Regions from separate parts of the Homo sapiens genome. Here region 1 is linked to region 2. The links are contacts of gene promoters, found by promoter capture Hi-C in blood cells and fetal thymus (Javierre and others, 2016). All regions are on one chromosome and are shown on one strand. The core of a region is centred on a gene start or on the middle of the fragment in contact, and the rest is flanking DNA. Distances in the headings are between cores, read along the strand shown.

Region 1 (7,338 bases), core at 3,431-5,930, 270 kb before region 2:
GCCTTTGGCTACATCACATTTGTGTGTTAGGCCTAAATTATGATAGCTTTAGCCCAAACAGATCAGAATACCAGAAAGGGTCCCCAGCTGTCTCAAGCATTCCAAAGAGGACTTCCACAAACATGCTCAGCAGATATTCATCACCTTCTTCCTCTCCAGCCTCTCCACCCACCAACTCTGCTCTCTCTTCTGCTGATGGATTTCATGGGCTTACTGCTCTCTTGGGACCATTGTCTTAAGTGGGTTATAGAAAATATATACATATTTAATATTTGCTTTAAAATATACTTATTGAGCTCTCAATGTATGTAAGATATAAACATGGTGACAAAAAGCAAATTAAAATTAAGATGGTGAGAGAAAAAAGGAATAGCCAGGTCTAACACATCAGGTAAGTTGTCCACTTTTCCTGCTCTGGCCCTGGCTTGGTGCTAGTTATAACTCAGGTTCAAGTTACTAAGGATGGAGAAAAAAATCTGGAGGAGTCCAAAGTAGACAGAGAAAGACATACCCCCAGACCATCACTTTAACTACACACAAACATATAAACTTACACACACAAACTCACACACTCACAAACACAAACACAAAACTCACACACACACACACACACACACACACAAATGGTTAGAAGGCATCCGAATCTGCTCTCCCTGGCTCTGGAACTCTTTGGAGCTGCCAGGTGTCTACCACAGGGATTGGATTATTTATATTCATTAAGCTCAATGTCAATCTTTTTCCATGGGCAGTGCTGATTCCATGGCCTTCTCCACAGTCTACGGCAAAGGAAAAACTCCTTAGAATAACTTGTACACACAACAGAAGCATTCTACTTGTACATTCTTCTTGTACATACAAAAGAAGCATTCACTCCAAGCTCAGGGAAGAGAAACTCAGTCTCCTGCCTTTCTGGGGCCCCAGAATGTCTCTTAAGTGCCCTTCCAACTAGTGCTTGGTAAATGAGACACTGGGCTGAGGAAACCACTGACCACAGGCCACGTCTTCCCTCTGCAAGCTTCTAGATTCAGTTGCCAGGATGGGCTCCTGGACTGTGCCTATTCTACTGGACACTGATTAAAAGTCATCTCTGTGCCCTTTCATTTCAGGCAGCTGGGGAGGGGATGGCAGTGAGCAGCCAAGAAGCGGTCTCTCTCCACCCTGGGAACCAAGCCATTGAGCTAAGTTCTGAAAACCGGTATGTTGGAGTTATCTTTATCAAGAAACTTCAAAAAGTTCATGAAATAGCTGAAGGAGGAAGATTAATGAAGAGAGTCATAAAAGAATATTCTATGGACAACAGATAATGCTTTTTAATGAGTTTTTCCTAAATAGAAGTGTTTCCTATATAGAGGTATTTGCGCCCTCTACTGCCTTCAGCTGCTACTTCTCAGCAAATTATCCCCTGAATATAAAGTCTTAGATACTAGCACACAGATCTTTTGAGTTTTTTAAAAAGGAGATTCATCAGTATATATGGATGGAAGGAAAGGCAGAGAGAATGGCATTCCTAGTCTCCTCTGGAGCAGGAATGCATACTATATTCCCCACATACAGCCAAAGGTCACTGTGCCCAGAAAATGTAGGAAGTTTCTTAATGAACTATATTAAAGCTATAAAAGCTGCAGCTCAAGAAACTGCTATGTGCTACCGAAGGCAAGTGCTGCTTCCATCAGGTGTGTGGGGGAACCCCCAGCATCTGACACTGCAGGCTTTTATGTAGAGCTGGGTGGTCTGATATGAAGCCACTATGCAGCTATTTCAATTTATATTTAAATTAATTAAAATAAAATCTAAAACTCAGTTCTTCAGATGCACTAGTTACACTTGCAGTGCTCAATAGTAATATATAGCTAGCGGTGGCACAGATTTAGAATGTTTTCTTTTTTTGTTTGTTTTGTTTTTTTTTTTCTGAGACAGGATCTGTCTCTGTTGCCCAGGCTGGAGTGCTGCAACACAGTCATGGCTTACTGCAGCCTCAAACACCTGGGCTCAAGCAATCCTGCCGCCTCAGCCTTCCAACTAACTAGGACTACAGGCTCACACCACCACATCGGGCTAAGTTTTTTTTTTAATTTTATTTTTTGTAGAGACAGGGTCTCTCCATGTTGCCCAGGCTGGTCTCAAACTCCCAGACTCAAGTGATCTTCCCAATTGGCCTTGGAAAGTGCTGGGATTACAGGTGTGAGCCACCCAACCCACCCTAGAACATTTTTAACATTGCAGAAAGTCCTTTTGGAACTAATGTAGGGTTTTTCAGTCTAAGCACTATTGCCATTTGGGGCCAGATAACTCTTTGCTGTGAGGGGTTGTTCTGTACATTATAGGATGTTTAGCATCAGCAATGACCTCTGGATGTCAGTAGCACCCACATCTCCAGATGTGATCATCCAAAGTGTCTCCAGGGGCCAAGTGTGGTGGCTCATGCCTGTAATCCAGCACTTTGGGAGGCTGAGGCAGGCAGGTCACCTGAGGTCAGGAGTTCAAGACTAGCCTGGCCAACATGGAAAACCCTATCTCTACTGAAAAAGTACAAAAATTAGCTGGGCATGCTGGTGGGCACCTGTACTCCCAGCTACTCGGGAGGCTGAGACAGAAGAATTGCTTGAACCCAGGAGGCAGAGACTGCAGGGAGCCGAGATCGCACCACTGCACTCCAGCCTGGGTGACAGAGTGAGACTCTGTCTCAAAAAAACAAACAAACAAACAAAAAATTTTCTCCAAGTATTGCCAGATGCCCCCAGGGGCAAAATTGCCCCCATTTGAGAACTGTTCATTTAAAGCAGTAATCAGCCCAAGTAGGCACTGGCCAGATCCCACCAAAAGGAGATATCACAGAACTCATACAGACAGCCTGGATAAGTTGGTGGGTAAGAGTATCTAATGAAAGACCAGCCACTCCTACATCATGTGCCACTGCCACTTCATGATCTTAATGCATATGGCTTAAGACATATGGGTTAACAAGGCTAAGCTTGTGGCCTGCTTACAGATGGAGAATCTTGATAATTCCATGACTCTCCATTTTAGTTCACATCAGAACTATAACTCTTTATTTGCCTTAGGGCTGGAGATCAATAACATGATCCAAAATGTCTTCTATGAGCCTCACAAAGTAGTATTTCTTTTCTCTGTGCTTACACAGCATCTAAACTGTACATGTTTTAGTACAATAAAATCAAATATGTTCTAATCTGTCTCTGTCTCCCACGAGACAGCAAACCACTAGTGATGGAGGGGAAGAAGAGGCATCTCCATCGTTTTACCAACTGGTGTTCTCAGAATGCCAGGCATAACACAGGTAAGCATTACTGGTTTGCTGAACGTTTGAACTGATGAGAAGCCCCTGACAATGAATGCTGCTTTGGAGGCTTGTGAGTACTACTTGTAAAGATCGCCTACCATCTGACCAGTTATTTTTACCATTGGAACCTTAAACATCCTTGGAATTCTCAGAGCTATAGGAATAACATGGGTGTTGATCTATGTTCTTTTTAGCCCATCTAATTTAAGATTCTAAATTTTGGTTGCATGAATACTATGCAGCCAAAGGACAAGATCGTGTCCTTTGCAGCAACATGGATGGAGCTGGAGGCCATTATCCTAAGTCAACTAACATGGAAACAGAAAACAAGATACTGCATGTTCTCACTCACCAGTGGGAGCTAAACACTGAGTACATGTGGACACAAAGAAGGGAACAACACAAATATGGGACCTACTTGAGGGTAGAGAGTAGGAGGAAGCCCCTCATAGAGGCCCCTATCACAGAAAACTTCCCGTCTCCGGTGTACTAATTTGGTAGTCAGCTGGCAGTTTCACCGTTGCACATTCTGTCTTATCTGCTTTTGCAGGATTACCATGACTTGAGATACAAGAACAGGTTTATGGTCCTAGACCAAAGCCTTTCCCCTAGTGTGTGCAGCCAGCATCATTGCACACTGCAAGAGTAGCCACAGGGACCCTTTGGGGTCAGACCTGCTCACAGACTAGACAGTCTTGGAAGTATTCTTCCAGTGGGGGAGACAACAGGATTATGATTTTGCCAAACACTTCAGGTTAAAGACCAAAAGTTAACTGAGGAAGTTTTTCATGAACCTCAGGAAGAGATAAACATCCAATTCTCTGTTATTTCAAAGCAACCAATGTGTACTGTTTTTATTAAAAGCAAATTAAGCGCTTATCAATCTGTCTCCTGCTACATGACAGGTCACTTGAGAAGAGGAAACATGCCCTATGTGTCCCAACAGAGTACCTGGCCTGTACCTAATGATAATTCATAGCTTGCTGATTATAGAAATGGACAAGGAGCTTAGAGCAATGAAGTCTGCCTTGGCCATGCTAACAATATGTTTGGATCGCAGGTTCCTTAAACCTCTGTGGGTTTCCCAGAACCATGGGAATGGCATTGAACTTCTTTTTTCAGCTCAATGTATAATCCTAAATTTCAATTGCATCTAGAAAACATCTTCACCTCTTCTCATTTCCTTTATAGACATGGACTTTTCAAGTCCCAAGATACTTCAGACAGTCTAAAAACAACTTGCTTTCCGGGAACCTGAGGACTTTTCCAATAGACATTATAGGATCTATGAAATATCTTGAGTCTAGTTCAGTGATGTAAATGCTTCCTACAATTTATATAGACAATTCCAGGTGAATGAATATTTGACATGTAAAACAATGAAAGCACAGAAATTCAGTTAGAATTGGAACACGTGGGGCCGGACGCGGTGGCTCACGCCTGTAATCCCAGCACTTTGGGAGGCAGAGGCGGGCGGATCATGAGGTCAGGAGATCGAGACCATCCTGGCTAACACAGTGAAACCCCGTCTCTACTAAAAATACAAAAAACATTTGCCGGGCGTGGTGGTGGGTGCCTGTAATCCCAGCTACTCGGGAGGCTGAGGCAGGAGAATGGCGTGAACCCGGGAGGCAGAGCTTACAGTGAGCCAAGATTGCACCACTGCACTCCAGCCTGGGCGACAGAGCGAGACTCCCTCTCAAAAAAAAAAAAAAAAAAAAAAAACTGGAACACGTGGGAGTCAGCCAGAAAAGTAAATCAGAGTAGCCCAAAGATAGCCATCAAGACCCCTGAGGTGGTATGAAGATTACCAGGACTTTCAGAGCAGAGAAGTTCCTAGTAGCTGAGTATTTTCTCTGTGGACATGATTGGTGCAAGTTTGCAAACATGAGTAGTCTCAAAAGCAAACATCAGACACTCTCTGTAGAGGTCAGTGCACTTTGACCTACATCCTTTCTGGTATTGCATGGATTATTAAGGTGCACAAGGGGAAACCAAAGCATAGAAAAATAAAGTTCTAGACTCAGAGCCTCATAGAAAATAGGTATTTATTAGGAATTAGTCTCTGATCCAAAGCATTTGGACCTGAAAGGGATCCAGGGATCATTTGGAAAAGTATCTGTGAAACTTTAATGTACCAACAAATCATCTGGACATGTTAAAAGGCAAGTTCTCATTCAGGAGATCTGTAGAGGGGCCTGATATTCTGCATTTCTGGGCTTTTAGTAGTTGAGGATGCCACTGTAACAGACCATATCCTGAGTAGCAAAAATCTAGTCTAGTGGTTTTAAACCATGCACAAAAAAATCACTTTGGGATTACTTTTTTCAGAAAACTTACTGATAATACTCATGCCTGGGCTTCACTTCCAGAGATTCTGATTGATTGGGCTGGAGATTGGCTCAGGCATCTGCATTTTTAAAAGACTTCCAAGGAATTTTACAACCTTGCAGCCCAAGGTTGTAAACCACTGTTCAAGGCCAACCTTTTTCTATACCTGATGAGGAAACTCAGTGTTTAAGTGAAATCAAGTTCACTCTGCTAGTTCGTCGAACACAGAGCTGGTTCTGGAATGTTGATAGTGGTTAAGTTTTATTTCTCCAATGCTTAAGTTTCATTTCTACAAGTAGGCATCCTGCCCATTAGAAATGAGTTTCCCTCTCTAGTTTCCATTGTTTTTTTCCTATTTGTAGACACAGACACACACACACTCTCTCTCTCTCTCTCTTACACAATGTGTTGGCTGTTTCCTTATTGTTGCTCTGTCCTGTGTGGTTCATGGCTGTATTTATCCAAGGACACACTGGGCCAGATCCTGAATACCTAATCAGTTGAGCCAGAGCCTCACAGAACCAGGACTGCTGCCAAATTCAGTGACCACATGACAAACACTCACTCTGTTTCTCTGACACGCTGTTACTAGCAATAATTTTATGCATGAAAATTCCAAAGTCATACTACTCTCAGTGTAAGCAGCTCTCCTAATGTTCATTTCAGTATTTGCTTATGTTTCTATCCCTTTTAGAGTTGATTCAGGGCTAGTGCCTTACAGAAGATATTTGTATCTGAAAACACAATTGGCCTCCTAGAAGCTTCCCATCTGATACAGAACTGGAGAGAGAGAGCTGAGAGGAAATGAGTCCCATTCCAAAATCTCTTCTCCCCCTACACAGGTCCATCCTCACTAGGGAGAGGTTGAATGCCTGCTGCCCAAGAGGTACTGCTGGGCTCTATGTGTAGATATGGCCAGGGCTCCCTGACCTGAGCCTGAGATGGGAATATGTAGATTGCCCTGGCCTGAAGCTCAGAACAGGACACCCCTATCTCAGCAGCTGCACAGTCAGATATGACATGAAACACCTCTCTCTCAGTGCCCACTGGGAAAAATTGTAGTCTGGAAGGGCTCCAGCTAATGGTCAGCACAGACTGCACAGATAAGGGGACTTGTCCCACACTGTGAAAGCAACACTCACAATTACTGAATGCTGTTAAATGAGACATGCTTTCCATGCAATATCCCACTTCATCTCAACATAACCCCATGACGAAAGTCCTAGTGCTATTCCGATTCCATGGGTAAGTAAATGTGGCTTAGAAATGTGAACCAACTATCCCAAGATCACATGTCCAGTAAGCAGCAAAGTCCATTAATGACCCCAGGTAGTCTGATTCCAGGTGGCCTTCACTACTGAGCAACATCATCTTGTGCGCACAAAGACAAGTAAAGGTAAAGGGTTTTAATAGTTCTCATTATGCCCAAGCTGCAGAGCAAGAAAGGAAACCTCAGAAGAAAACATCCCATTGGCCCCAAATATAGAATAATGGTTGTTCTATGATGGGGTGCTATTGTCTTATACTCAGAGTACACAACCCCAAAATAAACAAGATGGCAAATATCTGTGCAGAACCCCCTCCATCAGGTGATTCTGTCACCTGACAGGTGTAGAAGGTTTTTTCTAATGGCCTTGGTTTGCTCAACCCCAGATGGAACAATGTTTGACTAACAATCATTCTTCCCTTTCAGCAAACTTGGTCTT
Region 2 (6,947 bases), core at 1,135-3,634:
AAATTATAAGTAACAATCGTGGTCATGAAACTTAAAACAACTAGGATTTTTATTCTGTAAGAAACATAAACCACTTTAATTTCTGATACAAAGCACACAGGCAGATAGTTACATTTTCTTGTATTTTAAAATAATTTCTGTGGGTTTGCAAGCACAAGTTAAGGCTCAGGTTAGTTTTTCTCTGTCTTCAAGATATTCCTAGAGGGTGTATTTTCAATTCCTCAGAAGTTATTTCAAGAGGTGTTATATCCTCAATTAAACATAGAAGATTAAGCTAGAAGCTCCCTTTCATTATATTTTAGCTATTTTCATTGCAAACTCTAGTACAATCTGTCAATGTAGATAAGAGAAATAACTGAAGTATAGCTTCAAAATAAGTGAAACAGGTTTATAAATCACAGGTAATCAATATTAAGTCCTGACTTTTAAAATATTAATACTAATGAAAGTCATTTTCTAACAAGTATCAAAAACAAAAGCAAATAAAAATTCAGGTGCTAGATTACAACCTTACACCTTACAACTGTAGCCAAATCTGCTGTTTGGCTTTAAAGTTCCACACAAAATCTTAACCTACAAATTTAACATTTCAAACCCACAAAATACAAGTACCAGAGTCACCCACAGTCATGTCAAAGGGCTTTCCAAGGTCTTAGAAACCTTAATCCAATACAGAAAAGCTAAGAGTCAAAAAGACATAGAAACAGGGAAAAGTGAAGGTGTTATTTGCCAAACATTAAACTTTCACAGAAATCCAAAACCTACTTAACAATTTCCCTATATCGAACAGCATAACCTCTATGCAAATGCAGTCATTTATTAGCATTTACTGTACTTACTTTGCTTTTTGCCATTTATAAGCTTCATTAAAGACACCCACAAAGAAGTAACCAGTTGAATGAGCTTCAGTCAAGAAAAACCAGCTGTAAACTCGACCTACAAATTTACATCCCACAGCGTCCTGTGGGGAAGGTACACTTTACAAACTACCATTATATATACAAGCTTTAGATTGTGAAATAATGCACTTCGGCTTTCTCCGGTGTACATTACAATTACAAACCCTCAACTCAACCTCCCCCTTCGTTGAAAAAAAAAATCCACCTCCAATCCTCATTGGTCCACATAGTTCCGGCCCACATGGTATCAGTGGGTGTGTCCCTCCCAAAAAACCCTCTCATTGGCCGTGAAGAAACAGCTTCTAATAGGCTGTGATTTTGGGGGGTAGTTAAACTCCACGCCTCCAGACTTGCGCTCTCCAATAGACCCGAGACGCTGCTGGCTACTCTGTGATTCAAAGGGCAGGCAACCCCAGTAGGACGCGCTCAGAGAAGCGAGAGGGGTGAGAAAGGAGAGAGCACCCTCGGTGTGCCGCCCACTTTATCCTCACTCCTGGACCCCAGCAAATGTTCACACACCTGCGTTTTCCCAGCCACCAATTAGAAGGGCGGACAGAGCGTTCGCTTATTATATATCCTTGACCTAGGGACCCGCTCAAGCTTCGTGTCCAATCCTCGTTCTACTGATAGAAGCGAGCAAAGGGCAGGCTCAGGCAAAGACCTGTAGTGCTTGATGTCCCCTAGGAAAAGAATCAGTCCCGGGAACCTACTCTGTGCAGTCCCTCGACCGCAGACGCGGGGGCGCACGGGGCGTGCTGCGGCGCCTGCCTCAGCCGCTCCCAGTCCCGGGCCCCGCACGCTGCGTCTGCCTTGCGCCCGCGCTCCCCTCCCAGCGGGACTTACGCGGCCTGTTCTTTCTCCCCGAGTCCATCCTCCTCCGCAGCCGGCATTTCTTGGCCGGGGAGTCATGCTGAGGGAGCAGTGGCTGCGGCTGCAGCTCCGGCAGGAGCGGGAGGCGCTGGGGCGCCGCGTCGCTGCCGCCCACTGGACCCCGGCTGCAGACGTGCGGCGGCTGGACTGGCGGCGGATGGAAGCCGTTGTGCAGCAGCCCGTTCACAGCGGCGGCGCTGGTGCCCACGGGGGCCCCTGGAGAGTGCGGGACCGAGCGCTCCTGCTGCCCGCTGCGGTCGCCCATGCCGGGGGCTGGCGGGGCTGTGCGCGGGCCCCGGCTCAGGCGGCCTCGCTGGAGGTCATTCTCCGGCGTCTTTATTTCCCCGGATCCTCCCTGCGGCTTCCGATTCAGCAGCCGCAGAGCCGGCGCCTGGGGATGGCGAACCCGGCGCTCCTCCCCTCCTCCTGCCGACTCCCCCACCTCCTCTGCGCCCTGCCCCCCGCGCGCCGGCCCCACGGCGCCGGCCTGGAGCACGCCAGCCCCGGGCGCGGAATCGGGGATCCCCGCGCACCCCCAGCCGGGGCTCCCGCCGCCCGCCTTCCCCTGATCCCCAGGCCGCGCGACTTCAAACGCGGCTTCCTCGCCTCCCAGACTGGTCCCCGCCACTGAGCATGCCCAGTCCTGCCCGCCACCGCCACCGACGAGTTTCAACATGGGGAATCAAGTTCTCTGGGCTTGCAGAGAGGAGATGGGCGGGTTGGGCTTTGTATGGCGATGTGAAAACCAGATGGGTCTGGGAGAGACAGCGAAAGGAGCGAACCGTTTCAGGAGGAATACGGGAGGAAGACAATTATTTGCAGAGGTGTCAGGTTTGCTAATCCTGTCCCCAGTGAGCAAGATACCTTTGCAAGGTCATTCACGTTACCCTCCCCGCTTTGTGAGTGTGTGCTTACGCGCGCGCGCGTGTGTGCCTGTGCGTTTGGTTAAGTGACCAAACTACTTAGAGGCCTGAGGGGAGGGAGAACAATTATTTATAGAAAAGTTGGCAGACTTGGGGAGGGAGGGGAGTGAAATTTCTTTGCTGGCACGCACACACACTCAAACACCATGTGGTCTCATGGAGTTGTCTTTTGCAGGGAGGAAACCTAGGAATACAGTGTAAGGACAGTGAAGGACAAAACTGTAGGCAGGATTAATCGGTGCTGAAAGAGATCAAGTAAACAGGAGCAATTCCATGCTATAAAAAGCACTTTCCTCACCCAGAAAGGACTTCAAAAGACAATGTCATGTTATTTATAGAGTAAGGAGTTGCCTCTTCTAAGAAGGGAAGGCGGCATCACGTGGTGACCAGCACTACGAGCTTTGGAGTTAGCACTGGGTTCAAATTCCAACTCAGCCACTGAGCAAACCCAGATAACGTTAATGCTCAAGGTAACACTTCTAGCAATAGGAAACGGGACTGTCCATGCTCACTATGCAGGACTAATTTGGGTGGTGAATACCTTCCCAAAGTTATGCAATCTCTTGAGGCCTCACTTTCCTATCCATAATGGGGCTGTTGTGAGAAAATCTACTAAAAGTACCTGGTACAATCCTGGCACACAGTAAATGCTCAGAAAGCTAGTTTTCCTTATTACGCTATTATGATTAGCAGTTCACCCTTTGTTTCGACAGGGGAACAAACCATGCTTACAGCCGTATTTATTGTGTGATTTATTTTGTGATATTCTCCGTGATTTGCAATTAATCTACAGAGGAGTCAGAGTCTGGCAGGTGCTGGCTGGCTACTGGGTTGCTGGGCCCCTGGGCTTCAGTGCATTCAGCAGCATCTAGGGCTTGCATCTGGCAATTCCTTCCAGCAGAGCCTTACCTAGAATCAGAGCTTGAGAACCATGGGGGCCACTGGAGCACTCTGGTCTATCCACTCTTGCATACTTTTTTCGTATCAGGAAACTGAGCTGCAGACAGATGGCTGAGGTTATTAAGAGCAAAGGTGGGACTAAACTCCAAATCTCAACTCTCTTAGCTTCCCTAACCTTATGCTATTTAAAGACAGAGAAAAAAACCCAGGTGATCTGGCCCCTCCCTACCTCTCCTGCCTCATCAGGGGCTCCCTGTGCTGCCTTCAATTCCTTAAACAACATTCTGCTGTTTCCATTGCCTTAGAGAAGTCTCTTCTCTAAGACCTCTTTTGTCTACTAGACTCCAACTTTAGATCTCCTCTTTAACTTCTCATATTTAGAGAAATGTTCCCTGACCCTTAGGGCTACATTAGGTCTCCCTGCCATACCCTCTTCCTACTCCTTGTACTCTGTTTATGACTCCTTATCATTTTGTAACTATACCATGCATCTGTTCCCTCATTTGTAACTTGAGAATAATAGGACATCACTGAGTTGTTAGACTGATGAAATGCATAACACATGCGTAAAATTAATTCAAACTTCAAGCTATTGGAACTTTTTTGTGAGACTTGAGAGAAATGTGGCTATGCAGCTACAACTTCTGCTTTTTTTTTTTTTTTTTTTAAGACAAGGTCTCACTCCTTCACCCAGGCTGGAGTGCAGTGGCACAGTCGTAGCTTACTGTAGCCTCCAACTCCTGGGCTCAAGCGATCCTCCCACCTTGGCCTCCCAAAGTATTGGAATTATAGGAATGAGCCACCATGCCTGGGCTTGCCTTTTTTCCTTGTAAATAATTAGGAAGACCGAGCAGGGCCAGAGATACTAATCCCTTGGATCACTGCCTCTCCTCACAGAGTAATAATCTTCCTTGGAATGCAGCAGTCTGCAACCAATCAAATCGCTGTGGCATATGCATTGGTCTTGTATGGAAAATGTAATTCTGCTGGAACTTCTCCATCTCTGCCAGTATAAGTGAAATCTTAACTTCTCCACTTTGGAGCACTGATCCCACTCATTTGGAGTTAGTGTTTCCAGGTGGCTATCCTCAAGCTTTGCACTCAAACTTCATACTTAATCATGTTCTCTAAATCTCATTATTTAAGGTTAACATATGTAAAGTGTCCAGCACATTGTAAGTGCTAGAAAAAGACATTATTATTATTTGATTGCCCATCTTACCCCACTTCACTGTAAGCATCTTTAAGGCAGATGACTTGTTCATCACTCTATCCCTAGGAGGCACTTGGTAATTATTTGTGACTGGATAAATGACTTATATCAAGCTTGTCTAGCCTGTGGCCCACAGCCTGCATGCGGCTCAGGACGGCTTTGAATACGGCCCAACACAAATTCATAAACATGAGATTTATTTTTGTGACTTTTTTTTTTTTAGCTCATTAGCTATCATTAGTGTTAGTGTATTTTATGTGTGGCCCAAGACAATTCTTCCTCTTCCAGTGTGGCTCATGGAAGCCAAAAGATTGGACACCCCTGACTTAGATGATATTTCACACAGAGTCCCCCTCACTTTCTACTGTAAATTTGCTAAAAATCACCAGCCACTCCTAAATATTCAAATATATCATTTTCAAATTCCCACATAATTGAGCTGAGTGGCTTAGGAAGCAAATTACATCAGAGATGCAAATAGAAGCTTTAGCATTGCAATATCTCCAAGGACATATTTTTTCTAGCTGGATTCCCAGGCCTGCTGAGGAAGGCCTGAGCCAGGTGGCTCAGACCCAGGCAGGGCAAAAGTACTGGTACTGGGACAGAACGTCCTCCACCTGCTTCCTTTCTCCTACCCTTGTCAGGCTGGGTGCTTGGATCAGTTACACCCAGCGTATGGTAGGGAAGAAGCCAGGTGGCATCTCACAGGTTTATTCAGGGGTGTGTGTAGGAGGTGTAACTTTGAGGCGTGAGCTGTCATGTCCTCCAGGAGGGGCATGCAACAAATGTTTGGAAGAGAGTGAGGGAGAAGGGAACCCACAAACCAGTGCACTCCCTTGGGTCTTATTCATTTATTTAATAATCATTTATTGTGTGTACTATGTTGTAGGCACTAAAGCATGCTGGGAATACAAAGACAAAATAGATGGCTTCACTGCCCTCAAAGGGCTTACAATTCAGTAGAGAGAGAAAAGTCAGTGATTCTCCAGCATCAGTGTTATGTAAGAATAACCTAGGGAATTTTTCCTTTTTAAATTTGTATTAAAACTAACATACATACAGAAAAGTATGCATATCTTATAAAGCTCAAGGTATTTTGCAAAAAATGAACATGCAGTGTAACTTGCAACCCAGGATATTTTGTAAGCACAGATTCTGGGTCCAGTTCCCATAGACTGATTCATCAGTAGGTGATGATGATGATAACGAAGATGATAATAAATATTTTTAAAATTAAAAAAATAACTTTTTCAAAAACAGGGGATTTGATGCAGATGATCATCATGGCTTGGAGAAACAATGAAGGAAGCAAAGTATGCCATCTATGCTGCGGGAGGTAACTCCAGAAGACCCCAGAGAGTGAGCAATGACAGAGTCAGGGGTGGGGGTTTATGGGGGAGTGGTGCTGAGGTGGAAGCTAAAACAGGTTTCAGGGAGGAAATGACCCTTAAACTGAATTTTGAATAATATTGGCCTTTCTTCAGGTGAATAGGGAGGGAAGGTTTAAAAGAATCTACTCAGAACTGAAGGAGCCAAGACTCTGTGGGTGCATTTGAAACAACCTGGCATTTTTGGGAAACTGCCAGGAGTTCCACAAGGCTGAAGAGCAGCCTGAGAAGGGAGAAGGTGAGCAGTAATGGCTGAAAAGTTTATGTAACCAACCAACAGGCTCATTTTACCTGCTGCCCAGATACAGCCGATTTATCAAGACAGGGGAATTGCAAAAGAGAAAGAGTTAATTCATGCAGAGCCAGCTGAACAGGAGACTGGGGTTTTATTACTCAAATCAGTCACCCTGAAAATTCAGAGGCTGTGGTTTTTCAAGGATAGTTTGGCAGTCCAGGGAATGGAGTGCTGCTGATTGGCTGGGGATGCAATCATAGGAGTGTGGAAAATGGTCCTTCTGCATATGTGCTGAGTCTGCCTCTGGGAGGGGCCACAGGATGGGTTGGCAGGTCCACGTGGAGCCACTGGTTGTCAAAAATGCAAAACCCTGAAAAGACATCTCAAAAGGCCAATCTTAGGTTCTACAATAGTAATGTTATCTGCAGGAGTATTTGTGAAAGTTGTAAATCTTGTGACTTCTGGAATAATGACTAGTAATCATTTATGTCTACACTTTAGCAGAATTCAGGCTTCTCT

What was found. The method cuts DNA at HindIII sites, captures the fragments that hold promoters and counts their contacts. A CHiCAGO score of 5 or more calls a contact.
Region 1: a contact is called between a fragment that was not itself captured here and the fragment with the promoter of PANK1 in region 2, in 1 of 17 cell types (erythroblasts). The highest score is 5.1, in erythroblasts.

The regions. Positions count from the first base shown.
Region 1 is chr10:89,368,333-89,375,670 of GRCh38, forward strand. It overlaps a transcript of LIPA not described here. Among named protein-coding and RNA genes, the nearest start is that of IFIT1B, 6.1 kb to the right of the region's middle. The HindIII fragment of the contact is 3,422 bases long and covers 2,970-6,391 here.
Region 2 is chr10:89,642,858-89,649,804 of GRCh38, forward strand. It overlaps PANK1 (pantothenate kinase 1), which reads right to left and starts at 2,385. Exons shown (of 7, transcript NM_148977.3): 1 at 1,743-2,385. The coding sequence starts at 2,034. PANK1-AS1 (PANK1 antisense RNA 1) reads left to right here and starts at 1,257. Exons shown (of 5, transcript NR_184344.1): 1 at 1,257-1,342; 2 at 6,066-6,141; 3 at 6,290-6,431. RefSeq lists silencers at 1,159-1,208, 1,909-2,388. The HindIII fragment of the contact is 3,186 bases long and covers 1,498-4,683 here.